Linked DNA regions of Homo sapiens: all the other regions are linked to region 3. The links are contacts of gene promoters, found by promoter capture Hi-C in human tissues and cell types (Jung and others, 2019). All regions are on one chromosome and are shown on one strand. Each heading gives the region's core, a stretch centred on a gene start or on the middle of the fragment in contact. The rest is flanking DNA. Distances are from core to core; before and after follow the strand shown.

What was found. Contacts are between HindIII fragments. The study calls those that stand out against the background at their distance.
Region 1: a fragment that was not itself captured here is called in contact with the fragment with the promoter of LRRC3B in region 3 in 2 of the 25 tissues and cell types used here (aorta and dorsolateral prefrontal cortex).
Region 2: a fragment that was not itself captured here is called in contact with the fragment with the promoter of LRRC3B in region 3 in 2 of the 25 tissues and cell types used here (spleen and thymus).

What each region holds. Positions count from the first base shown.
Region 1 is chr3:26,684,799-26,689,608 of GRCh38, reverse strand. The region is part of intron 1 of LRRC3B (leucine rich repeat containing 3B); the gene reads right to left. Among named protein-coding and RNA genes, the nearest start is that of LRRC3B, 64 kb to the right of the region's middle. RefSeq lists a silencer at 3,204-3,412. The HindIII fragment of the contact is 4,428 bases long and covers 824-4,810 here.
Region 2 is chr3:26,586,097-26,590,428 of GRCh38, reverse strand. No RefSeq gene overlaps it. Among named protein-coding and RNA genes, the nearest start is that of LRRC3B-AS1, 34 kb to the left of the region's middle. The HindIII fragment of the contact is 5,892 bases long and covers 1-4,332 here.
Region 3 is chr3:26,621,111-26,625,418 of GRCh38, reverse strand. LRRC3B (leucine rich repeat containing 3B) reads right to left here and starts at 2,647. Exons shown (of 2, transcript NM_052953.4): 1 at 2,182-2,647. LRRC3B-AS1 (LRRC3B antisense RNA 1) reads left to right here and starts at 2,656. Exons shown (of 4, transcript NR_183726.1): 1 at 2,656-2,818. RefSeq lists enhancers at 236-1,205, 2,798-3,313. The HindIII fragment of the contact is 7,905 bases long and covers 1-4,308 here.

The DNA of each region.
Region 1 (4,810 bases), core at 1,788-4,287, 64 kb before region 3:
GTGAGCCACTAATTACCGGCTCCTCCTTGCACAATCAGGTTCAAAACAAAAGGAGGAAGCTTCTCACATTGGGGAAATGGAAACAACAGTATTTAATTCATGAAAACTAAAATCTGGAAAGATGAAGAGGATGACACCTCTGTTCTCCGGGAAAGCCACCCAGGGATGGCCACTGTCAGAAGGAGGTCAGATTCTGTGAGGAGGTCACCATTGTTTAACCTGTCAGGACTGGTCCTGGTGTCCCAGATGCACTGTTACTGAACCTGTGATGCTAGCCTGGCCTACAAGTTTGAGAAACACCTAATCAAAACATGAGGGTAAAATATTTACAAAGAGTGAGAGTCAGGGAGAGACTGAATGTGTACTAAGTAAATTTTTCACTTTAAATGTACCAGCATTTCTCTCTTTTCCTCTACTTTGTCTCCAACTTAGAAGAAAAGACATCATTTTCAACCCTTAGGGAGATGGAGTGTCTGAGAGTCTATAAGGGCTCCTCATGCTCAGCTGCTGGAACTCCCTGGAGTCTAGGAAACATCGCAGGTCTGCAGACACTGAGGTCTCTCCACCTGTGGAAAGTGGCACTCATCCTATTATGGGATAACTGAGGCCTTGGTGACGTTAAAAGCTGATTCTTCTCCTTTGCAGGTAGTAGATTCTTATCTGTTTGGGAATCTAGGCACATCTGTTTACAAGTGACCAACAATTATTTGTGGAAATGCTGTGCTTGCCATTCTACAGCCACAAATCAAAGTGGTTAAAAACTGTACTCTAGCCAGGGATTATGGGGGTGAGATGGTGATATGATCTGGATCTGTGTCCCCACTCAAATCTCATTTTCAATTGTAATCCTCAATGTTGGAGGTGGGGCCTGGTGGGAGGTGATTGGAACACGGGGGAGGATCTTTCGTGAATGGTTTAGCACCATCCCCTTGGTGCTGTTCTCATGATGATGAGTTCTCATGAGATCTGGTTGTTGAAAAGTGTGTGGCATCTCCCTCTCCTTCTTCCTGCTCTGGCCATGTAAGATATGCCTGATTCCCCTTTGCTTTGTGCCATGATTGAAAGTTTCCTGAGGCCTCCCCAGAAGCTGAGCAGATGCCAGCATCATGCTTCCTGTACAGCCTAAAGAACCATGAGCAAATTAAACTTCTTTTCGTTATAAATGACCCAGTCTCAGGTATTTTTTATAGAAATCTAGGAATAGGCTAATACAGATGGGAACAGTCATTATTTTTTATTGGTGCTGGCAAATATTCCCTGACCAAGTCGAACTTTCAACCTTGGCACAAAGCAGTAGCAAATATTATTCTTTCTGCGGTTCTTTATTTAAAATGTGTGCCTGCTCTTCTCTGTAAGGGAACATTCTTTTCTGCTGACCAGAAAAATATGGATGCCTAGATATTTAGAAAGAGCTGTGGATGTATTTTAATTATTTTTTACTCAACGTAATTCATGGGTTCACATCTGGATATATCTTTATAGGTTCGTCCCTTTTCTATTAATCTGTTATTATAAAACTTCCATGTTATGTCCTCCCATGTGCACCAGGGATACCTGAGCCTCCTTCTGATGTAACCAAGATGGAAGCTTCAATGAGGTGTCTTTATGTCACCAAAGCAAGGAGGAATCTGACAAAAGTCTTCCCAGAGGCTACTTGTGAAGCATCTCCTTGTTTGGTGGTTCTGTCCAGTGGCTGCTGTGGGATGAGATAAAGCTGCAGGAGGCAGAGGAGCCAAGGCTAATTCTTATTCAAACTATGGATTATCTCAACCCTTGATACTCTTCCCATTCCATCTGTCTCCTCAGTCCTGGGTCATTTTCATTGCTCATTATCACCAGCACCAGAGGGAAGACAGAGGAAATGAAGGAAGTTGAAATTCAAATGAATCGATTCTACCACTTGTTAGCAGCTCAGCTCACAAGTACACAAAGGGAGGAGGCTGCAGCTCTTCTGTGGGTTTCAATTCTCCTTGCTATTCTTGTACCCCATGCTGCCAGGCAATATTGAGTGGGCTGTATGGAAACGATCTCTGGGATGAAAAAAGAAGTGGGGGTAGCTCCCTCTAACAGTAGCTTCTTCAAAGAAAAGAAAAAGCAATTATATGCTCAGCGGCAGCGTGCCACACAGAGAAGCCCAAATTTTATTAAACAAACTCATATTTGGAAGCATATTATCCCCTCAGAACTAGAGAGAAAGGAATGCTTAGAACATATTTAGAGCAATTATAATGCAGAGGATACACTGATTGTCATAGCAGCAAAAATTTTAAATAAAGAGGACATTTCCTTAAAAGATTATGCCAAGGACATCAAAAGCAGAAGCAAGCAAAGGCTGTATCAAAATCCTAAAGGATAATGAAAAGGAAGAAAAATACATTAGGACCTTTAAAACCACTGTTTCCAACACATGTAGAATGGCAGGGAGAGAATAGAACCCTGGAACCAATGGAATTGTCTTTTTCTCCCTGCACTTATAAGAAAGGGTTGGACTACAGTCACCAATGCCCTGTCCTGTTCTCAGTGGTGGACATTGTGAGGCACCACCTAGATGACCCTGCAACAAAGGGTTTGCCCCAGCTTCTGGGAGTGTTGGCAGCAGAGAGCTTTCAATTAGTGACCCATTCGGGGATTGTCTCTGTGGCAGAGAGACACTTTGCCTTCCAGAAACAGCCCACATCCAATGACTGACCAGTGGGGGAGGATGAAGGTCTAGCTCCCTCAGCCTAATATGGGACAACTCTGAAGGACCAGTCTAGATCCAGAGCTGGCTGAGAGGTTGGCTGAGGCTGTGGTTGGTTCTGCATCACAGCTTATCTTCTCCTTCTTGCCATTCCTTCCCACCCCATTCACAAATGTTGATCCCAAGGGTACTCCTTAATAAACCTCTTGCATGCCAAATCCCATCTCAGAGTCTTCTTCCCTAGAATCTCAACATGCAACAGTTAATAGTCACTAATCTTTGCACACTCTGGCTTTTTTTATTTTCTTAACACTTTTTTTCTGAGCTGAATATTTACTTTTTTCAATGAGGTTGGTATATACTCCAAGAAGTTATGTAACACATCAAAGAAGAAATGCAGGTTGGTTGGTGGGGGATGCAGGAGAGAAAAAGGCTATGAATGATCCAAATGGAAATTGGATAAAAAGATTGGGCTTCAAATTAGATATATAAAGAAGCAGTGTTGAAGTTACCATAAGGAGCATGGAAAATTAAGAAATAACCATTTACCGGCCGGGCGCGGTGGCTCACGCCTGTAATCCCAGCACTTTGGGAGGCCAAGGCAGGCGGATCACGAGGCCAGGAGATCGAGACAATCCTGGCTAACATGGAGAAACCCCATCTTTACTAAAAATACAAAAAATTAGCCGGGCGTGGTGGCGGGCACCTGTAGTCCCAGCTACTTGGGAGGCTGAGGCAGGAGAATGGCGTGAACCCGGGAGGCGGAGCTTGCAGTGAGCCACAATTGCACCACTGCACTCCCGCCTGGGTGACAGAGTGAGACTCCATCTCGAAAAAAAAAAGAAAGGAAAATAAATAACCATTTACCTAGGCAAAGCAAGGGGTATAGTCTATATGAATCCTATACCACGGCCGAGTCTATTAATGAACAAGTAACTTTTTTTAACTAAGCCTAAGAACTTGGTATTTCCTATCTGAGGTAGCTACTGCCAATAGAATCTTAGAGAATGTTTGCCACCAGAAAAAGATGTCATAACTGAGAGACTGGACTAAGCTATTGATGGAGCATATCTGGGCATGTGCCCCCACTGAACCACTAAATGACATTAGACACAGTATTTAAACCCCAAGTCTGAAAGGAGGAAAGCAGGCAACTTGCTCAGTGAATAGAGATTCATGAAACTAAGATCTTTCTGAATTATTGTATATGAAATTTCCATCAACTGCACTGCCTAAGTAAATTAAGGTATAGTCATAAAATAGTAATAGTAGTTTTTAAAAATGAGGTATATAGATATATATATATATATATACACACACACATATATATATATGAGTGAAGCTTGTATATATTTGAAGAATATATGTGAATATATATATATATATATATATATATATATATATAGAGAGAGAGAGAGAGAGAGAGAGAGAGAGAGAGAGAGGGAGAGAGTCTACCATATCTTAGTTGGGTATCCTCCTTCCACAAACTAAGATTCAGAGAAATGTAATGACTGGTCCTTGGTCACATACTAGTAAGATAGGTAGCATTTTGACAAGCAGAGACTGAAGGGAGGTGATCATTTTAGAAAACAAGAAAGTCAAGTAAAATCAAGAAGGCAAAAATAAATGAACAAACATGAAACCCGCCAAAAAACAACAACAATAACCCCCATGTGGGCCAGGCACAGTACCTCATGCCTGCAATCCCAGCATTTTGAGAGGCCAAGGTGGGTGGATCACCTGAGGTCGGGAGTTCGAGACCAGCCTGACCAACTTGTTGAAACCCCATCTCTACTAGAAATACAAAATTAGCTGGGTGTGGTGGCACACGCCCATAATCCCAGCTACGCAGGAGGCTCAGGCAGGAGAATTGGTTGAAGCCTGGAGGTGGAGATTGCAGTGAGCTGAGATCGCACCACTGCACTCCAGCCTGGGCAACAAGAGCAAAACTCCATTTAAAATAAAATAAAATAAAATAAAATAAAATAAAGAAACCTGTGTTTGAGTGACTGCAAGCACTCCATTGTATGTGAGAATGGAGTAACAGAGATCTGCTACTGGTGAACTCAGGGATCTGAATGAATAATGAGTTCCACTCTGAACATATTACATATGTTTATTGAAAGTCAG
Region 2 (4,332 bases), core at 671-3,170, 34 kb after region 3:
TTAGTACTATTTTTCTCATAACATGGCAGGACATTATCAAGCTTGGGAACTGAGAAAACACGATGGGAGGAGAAAGGGAGAAATGAACCATAAATGTTGGAATTATTCCACAGCACCAACAAATGATAAACTCCTGCTGTTCCTCACATAGATCTGTAACCGCAATTGCACTTGTCCCTCTTAAAAATAGCAGTTGGAGTCTAGAATATTTCTAAGACAGTAGAGTGTCATCTTCATTTTTAAACATGAATAAGCTACACAGATGAAGCCTGTGGGGGCTAAAGCATTAGAGAGACACAGAACAGAGAAAGAGGCAGGGGCAAGATTTACCAGGACTTCCAGAAAAGGGTTGTTTATTCATTTATTCTTTCAACCAGCACTCAGGGAGCCTTTATTATGAGACAGCTACTAAGCATTTAGGAGGGTATAAAAAAATAAAAAGCACTGTCCCTACTTTCCAGAAATGGAACAGTATAGATTGATTCCCATAGATTTAATAGACAGATATAGCCTCAATCATTTATTCATTTATTCACTAAATATTGCTGTGTCAGGCATTTCGCTAGACAATGGTGTGGCAAAGATTAATAAAAATGTTATCTGTTCTTCAGGGCCCACAGTCTTGGGTAGGGGTGGGGGGATCAGGATTGAGGTGGATCCAGAAGGATAAGAGAAAAATAAAGAAGCAGCATCTAAATTAGTTTGGGGAAGAGGATGGGACAAGTGCTAGGGAAAGTGGTAGTGTATGTGAGTCTCAAGGAGAGAGTTTAAATCAGTATTTAAATTTGTATCTGTATAAATGACTTTCCAGCTGTCTGCCTATTTTATTAATGGGGCATGGCTCAGAGGTACGATTAGAGTTTGAGTCCCAGCTCGACTGCTTTTTAACTGTGCAATCTTGGGTAAGTTAGCTTCTTGATGCCTCAGTTTCCTCATTTGTAAAATGAGGATTACAATAGCAATACCCTTTATGATCACTATGAGAATTAAATGAGTTAGTCTCTTTAAAGTCCTTTAAAAGAAAGTACTTAGCACATAGTGAGTTCTATGTAAGTACTAGTTATCTACAGAGAGACTAACATTTTCCACTGGAATGTCTCCTAGACAACACCTCTCAGGTATGTTTCTGGGTCTTGGGAATTAAAATTAGGGCCTATGAACGGGAAAGTCTTAAGATGCTAGTTTTGAGAGTGCGCTAAGAAATGAGGTGAGGAATCTTTATGGCTTCCCACTGGGAAAATCCAGAGTTGCAACCTCTTTGGCAGGCAGTATTCTTTTTTTGGCAGGAATCAGGAATTCCAGATTCTTCACAGTATCAGGGGCCTTGAGGAGGAAGCAGCTGTACTAATAAATTCACAGATATTCTGGATTAACTGACTGCAACCTGGAAGAGCAGGAGCACATTGTTGAGTCTACAGTAGTTTTCTGTTGTGCAGAAAATGGCAAATAAAAACATGTACTTGCTTCAATCTTCATATCCTTATTATTTCTTCCCTTCCCCACTCAATCCTTTTGTAAGGCCTAGAGACTGAACCCACTGCAATCAGTGTATGGCATGTATCCAAGTAACTGCTCTGCAAAGTATGGAGTAGGAAATCTTATTTGTAGCAAAAGAAGTAAAACAAATTACTATAGTATTTTATCTACATTGTGGCATTATGATAAATGTATGTTATCATTCCATGTCATTTAGCTCCTAACCAGTCTCCCGAAGAGGATCTTATTATTATTCCTATTTTAAGATGAGTGAAGAAATATTCCGAGCAATTGATGGGTTTCTTAGTGTTATTATTAGTAATTGGAGGTACTGGTTTTGAGCCTGACTCTATGACTCTAAAGCAAGTGCTCGTAACTTCTGTGATATGGGGTATAAGAACTAAGGAGTTATAGAGTGTCAAAGGAGGAATAGAGGAGGAAACAGTGAGAACATCCCAAGAGAGGTGGTATTTGAGTTGAGTGTTAAAGATAGGCACAGTTTTTAGACATGGAACGGATAAGTCAGGTCGTTCTAGATGAAGAAATGTTAAAGGTCAGGAGGGCATGAGTGTCATGAGCCCCCTGGAAGAATATAAAAGTGTCTTGTGAGAGTAAAGCATGGGTGTTTGATAGAAGATAAAGCTGGATATGGACACATTCAAGGAAGGTCATCTGTTCCCTCAACCAAATGGAAATGCAAACCCATCTTTGAGGCAGAGGGAGGAAAGGGCTGAGGGAATGGCTCCGTGTTCTACACTGCATGATAAACAGTAGACATTATATCTCTACCAGCCTTTTGCCATGGTTGATGCTTAGTTTCTGCATCACTGTCTGAAGACAGGGGCACAGAACCCAGCTGCTGAGACTCTAGAGATTGCTAGTGCCCTAGCTGTTGAGATAGAACTTGTTAGCGGGAGACGAACAGCAGAAGAGAAATTAGGAAGGAGTTGAACCTTAGACCCGACTGATGGGTCACAAAGCAGAGAGGGTGCCTAGCCGTACCAGGAAGGATTTTTTTTCTGGCTCTCCGTGGCAGCACTGATGATGTCTCACAGCAATGCCAATCTGGACACAACCATTCCACAGAATGTTTTGCTGAACTGTGGTTCATGAAAACATCAAGCCTAGGATTTGTTGTAAGTGATCCTTTTCTTTTCCCACACCATTTTAGACTAGAAATAATCCCCAGCCAGCTGGTATGTCACTTTCAGAGGTAATGTGAATCCAAAACAACACAACTCTGACCTCTTCCTTATGGGAACACACATGGCATTATAGGAAAAGCATTGGTTTCGGGACTAGCAGTTCAGATTCAAGTCTCAGCTCTTAGAATTAAGCAGTTGTGCGATCTTGGACAAAATGTTTAGCTTCTCTGAACTTCAGTTTTCTTAACTGTAGACTAAGAAAGCATGCCTTACTTTATATGAAAAGGCCAGCTATCTCAGGGTGGATGTAAGCAGAAATTAGATAGTGCAAATGAAATGAAATAAAAACACACTGCTAGTCTAAAGCAGTGAGCATTTAGACTGCATGAGAAATAATTAAATTATTTTAAAGTATGAAGGAAATGTAATCTGCTTCTCCCATCCTGCCCCCTGCAGTATCCAGCAGCAATGTTCATAGGCACTAGTCAATGTCTTTGCTGTTGAGTCTCCCACAAGTATCACAGTTGCTTCCTGTCAGGGACTGGGACCATGTGCACTCAGAGACTGTGTCATCTCTGCCTCACAGGCACAAGGGAGAAGGGTTTTGGGCACTGCTGGCTGCAGTCACAGTCTCTGATGCCTTTGCATTCCTCTGTATAGTGGCAAATAGTCAAGATGGTGACATCCAGATGCATTTACATTTAAGTGTGCTTGAACCAACAGCACCTATCCAAAAAGTATCCTGCTCCCCTGCCTTCTCCCTTGGCATAGTTGGGTACTATCCATTTGTAGTTCTATGGCCTTGAGAAAGTTAATCTCTGTGCCTCAGTATTCTCATATCTGTGATATTAGCGTCACAGTCCTCCTTTCTAGTACTATTATTATGGAGATTACTTAGATATTATATATACGGAGAATGGCACATCATTCCTTTACAGGGGTTGCAGCCACACTAAACTAAATGCCCCATGGGAGCACGTTGAGAGGTGTGGGTGGATTTGACATATAGTAGACTAAGAATAAGTGAATCCAGAAAAGTCAACTCTCATAGCCAATGGGGCTGGGATGTCAGGAGATTTCTTGGAGGAACAACAAAAAAAAAACTGATACTCAAAGAATTGGAAGTTACAGGTAGGTGAGGAGGAGGGAAGGACTCTAGGCATTCACTCTAGCATGTGTCACTCAGCACAGTGACATGATACAGTGAGAGGACAAGGTGGTCATCAATGTCACCAGATGGAGAAGTGGGAACGTATGCTGAAGTCCTCAAATGCCATGTTAAGTAGCACAGACTGTAACCCCTAAAGTTAGGGCTTTCCAAACTTCAGCCACTCAGTATCAGCTTCACAATTTTTGCCATATCTGAGTATTGCAGTATCTCTTCTTTAACCATTTACTTAATATGGTCTTTAAATGGACTCACCTTCTTTTAAACTAAATAAGCTTACTTTATAAGGAAATTCTATTACCATTGTAAATAATAACCCATACCATTTGTCATAAACATAAGAAAATGAAACCCATAAAGTAAAACCAAACTATATTATTACACTCTTACTAGATACTTTTGCCTAATGACAACTCTGAGCCCAAGCCTACTATCTCTTGGCTTAAAAAGGGAAATGAGCAGGTTTTTGAGGAGTATGACAGCCATAAAGCACTCCTACAGTGAAGCTTTCCCTTAGAAGGATGGAGAGGGATCTGGGACGTT
Region 3 (4,308 bases), core at 1,398-3,897:
GCCTGCGCACAGGGAATCCCCGTTCTGCTCCTTGGGGCTCTGGAGTTTGCCACCGCTAGGCAGGGAGCTAGCTGCTCCAGGGGTGCCCCAGAATGGGAGGGACTGACCTCGGGATTTCTCCCGGGAGCCCTGGCGAGTCGACGTTTCCTCCGATGTGGCCAAGGCGAGGGACCCAGAAAAAGGAACTGCTCTGAATTTTGCTTTTTCCCAACTGGTACAAGGCAGCAGGAGTCCTCTGTAGGGCACCCGCGGAGAAAGTAAGAAAAGCCTGCACGTGGAAGGTCTGAACAGGGAGGACCTAAAGGTTGTACAGGGTTCCAAACCCACCCAACCTCCAAATGTTTCCCTATAGGGCTACTAGGAACCAGGGATCCACTCTCAGCCAAAGGCACCTCTGGGAGAGGAGCATGCACCTCCTCAGGGAGAGAAGGGTTAAGTGAGGTGCTTACTGGCCTTGGCAGTCACTGTGCCCCCACCAGGAAATAGGGGGCTTGATGGATAAAAGGGAGGGGAGGCTGCCTCTTCGAAACAGCCGACTAAGCCCCCTCCCGCAAACGGTCTTGCACTCCAGATTGCTGGGGTGCAAAGGAGAAAAGAGCCTCCCCCTCCTGCATTCGCCAGAGCATCTGGAGCCACAAGAAGAATCTACCTGGGAGCTGCAAGGTGGGCAGATCCACCTCTGTCTGGGCTCCCAGGTCTAAGAGCTGGGTCTCCCCTCACCCGAGGCCCACACCTCCTAGCTCTGCGTTTCCCTGCACGCCCTCCAGCTCTGCGCTCCCCAGCCTCCCGGGCGCAGCACAGGGCTCCCCCCACTCCCTCGCTCCGCCCAGGTGCGATTTGTGGAGGGGCGGGGGAAAGTGGCTCCCACCGCAGCCTCCGCTCCTGCGCTCTCCTCCAACCACTTTGGACCCCTGTTTACTCGCCGCGCGCTGGGGACTCCCCTCTACCCCGCACACACGTCTCCCCCTGGGAGGCAGGAGTCCCCTTCCTACACTGCGGCTGTGGAAACATCCTTGACTCCTGAGTGCCTGGCAGGGAAGGTGGGCGTGGGTCTACCGACCTGGCTGCAGAGGTGAAGGAGCGTAGAAGCAAGCGGGTGCCAGAGAAGAGAGCAGACTATGGTCCTCTTAGAGCTTGGAGAAGCATCCCTAGTCCACGATCTGACCATTCAGTCACCACCCAAGATGCCAACGCATTCAGATTCTCGCGGGGAGGTTTGTTTGCTTCTGGGGAGGAAGATCGCCCCATCCCAGGCACTCAGCAGCCTGCCTTCCCAAGTACCCAAGGGCCCGGCATTCCGGGGCTCCATTCCTTGTCTCCACGCGCCCCCAGGTACCCAGCCCCTCCCCCATCTGTATTTACATACCCAGGCCAGCGCCCTCCGGACTCAAATCCCTTTTCCTCTTCGTCAGATGGCCTCTCAGGGCTGGCCGCTCGCCCACATTAGCAGTACCTTTTCATTTCCCTCAACCGTGGGCAGATCTACCCGACCCTCAGCTTCCTCCTCCACCGCACGAGCAGCCTTTCCCTCCCTGAGCCACTTACTTCACCCACCCATATCTGCACTTGCAGTTCCCACGGCGCACAGCCGCAAGCCACTCCAAAGGTTTCATTGCCGAGTTGGGGGTGGCGTGTGCAAGGATGGACTGACTCCCATCGCGCTGGACGAAGCTTCAGGGGTGGCCGCAGCCATCCTCCATGTCCCACCTCTCTTATTTCACCTTCTCTGTCCCTACCCAGCTCCTAGAGGCAGGACGAGCACTGCTGGGTCCCAAACCCTCGCCTCAGGAGCCAGAGCTGCGGGGAGTGAAAAGTCGACTGGCAAGAACACACAGAGAGAAATGGGCAGATGCATATGGCAAGAGGGGCTGGGGGAAGGGCAAGAACTAAACCTGCAAGTTGCACAGCACGGGGTGAGCACCGCGCAGGGAAGGGGTCACAAAAGTTTGCAGACTATTGTATAGCAGCCGGCTGAACAGGAGCGAAGAGGGTCGACTCTCTCTCTCCAGGAGGAGGTCTCTCCCAGGGTCTGCGCAAAAGGGATCAGGGAGGCTTAGACAGGCACGGCTTAGAACTGGTGTAATAGTTCTCCTCTACTTGTTCCTTGGAGGGACGGCCTAGGTACCCGGGCAGAGGGATGATCCCGCGCTCTGCGAAAAGCAACAGGCGGCTGCACCTTACCTTGCGCCAGTCCCGGGCCGGGGTGGCTGCTCCATCCTCGTGGCTCAGGGAGGAGGCGTTGGGTGCGTATGCTTAGGGGTGTGCCCGCTGCCAGGGCTGCAGCGGCCGCCACCTCCAACCAGCTGCAAGCCGAGCTGCCCACCTGGGACCGGGCCGGCCCGGCGGGCTTGGCTCCCGGCGAAGGCGGCGGCGTTGGTGCGCGGCGGCTGGGGCGCGGGACGCAGGCAGTGCGTGGCGCGGCTGGCGTCTTCGGGCGCCGCCACCGAGCGAGGGTGCGGCCCCGGGCGGCCGTGCGGGGCACGACTTGGCTCGCGTTGCTGCGGCGGCCGCTGCAGACCCTGCTCCAGGCGCCGTAGCCTTGCAGGAAGAGCAGACAAAGACAGGAGAGAGGCAAAGCGCCGCTTGCCCAGAGATGCAGTCGGCTCAGTCAATAGAGGGAAATCGCCTCCAAACCCAGGCTGGGAATGAGGGAGGAGGGGCGAGGCGGCTGGGGACTAGAAAAAGCAGCAGGGAATTAACGTGACAGTCAGAGCCCAGCCAGTGCCTCGCCGGCGCTGCTCTCTCGCCTCGCGGTTGCGGGGTCCGGAATGGAGAGAGGAGGCGGGGGCTGAGCGTTGGCTGCCGGAGACCAGCTGAGGTAGGAGTATTAACTCCCTCTGCTGCTCTCGCCTGCCTTCCTCGCACCCCCTTACACAGCTCTACTTGCAGCAGGCTATGGCCCCATTCTTTCTCCTATTTTTCTAACTACTGAGATCAGAGCTGAATTAAGCTGGTGAAAGGAGCAAAACGTGCAAGGGATTGATTGCCCTCCTTGGGGGAAAAGCGGAGGCTTAAAATCAATTCGACAAATGAGTGTTTACTGGGTGCTGAGTACTGTGCTCCGCTATTGTGAGGGAGGGTTATGAATAAGGTACCCCCCTCCCGCCCCAGGGTCCGTTGTCTGATCTCAGAATCAGTTTCCCCTGCAGTTCTGGAAGCCCAAAGTTTCGGGGTTGAGTTGTGGTCCCTGATCCCGATCCTCAACCAATCTAGCTTTCTAAATCAGAAGAAGGTGGAATTCAATTTTCCTTTCTCCTTCCTGGGATGACTTTAACCTGCAGCCGAAATGGAGTCTATAGGCCCCTTAAAAAAGCGCGCGCACGCCAGTGTGTGTGTGTGCGAGCGCGCTCGCGTGCGCGCGTGTGTTTTAAGAGTAAGTCAAATTAATGGTTTTAGTGATGTTCTTATTTCATGATTTTAATTATTTACCATATCTGCAGTAGACACCAGTTTGGGGCAGAGGAACCCGCCTCTCCAGACTCTACAAATACCACCTTTTTTTCTAAAGCTTTTTTCCGCTACCCCAGTCCTCTGACTCGAGGCAGAAATCTTTCCCCTCTCTTTGCCCTCTCAGAATTTTATTTGCCAATCACTTGCGGAACTTATATATTTATAGATTTATCTCTTCACTCACATATGAGTATTCCCTGTGCTTTTTGTTTGTTTGTTCTCACTGCAACATCCAGCAGTGTTTTGTATCTAATGGGTACTCAAGGAAAGCTTATCCAGTTGAAGGTCATTTTCTCCTTCTGTATGAGCTAAATCTCAGTGTCTCTAGAATTAAAGAGACTCCAGGGATGGAACTTTTGATTTAGGGTGTGGTGGAGGGAACCACACATACAGTTAGACTCACAGCCCCTTTACTGGAAAGGTAATAAAGTATTTAATTCATTTTGGTCTCTAGACAATCAACCTTCTCCCACTGACCACCCACCTCTGTTTCCTGAATTCCCAAAAGCAAAAGAAAACCAAACTGCTAAGCAACTGCCTAGAGCAAGACATGTATGTTCAGCTGCCAACACCTAGAGCAAACCCATTCCAAGTGGAGAATGACCAAAAAATCTTGATTATTTCTTGACCTGTGTCAAGTATGTTGAAAGCCTGCCAAAGTTTCCTCATTTCTATTGAAGCACTCTTATTCTGGATGCATTTTAGAACAGTTTGAACAGTGTTACATTGCTCAGAGGTGAAGAAAATTGCTTTGTAGTTTAAGGATATTTAAGATTTGTTTGTTTGTTTGTTTGTTTTCTGTCCCACCTTCTACAAATTGCACGATAGATACCTCAGATCAGGAATGCTGCATGAAAA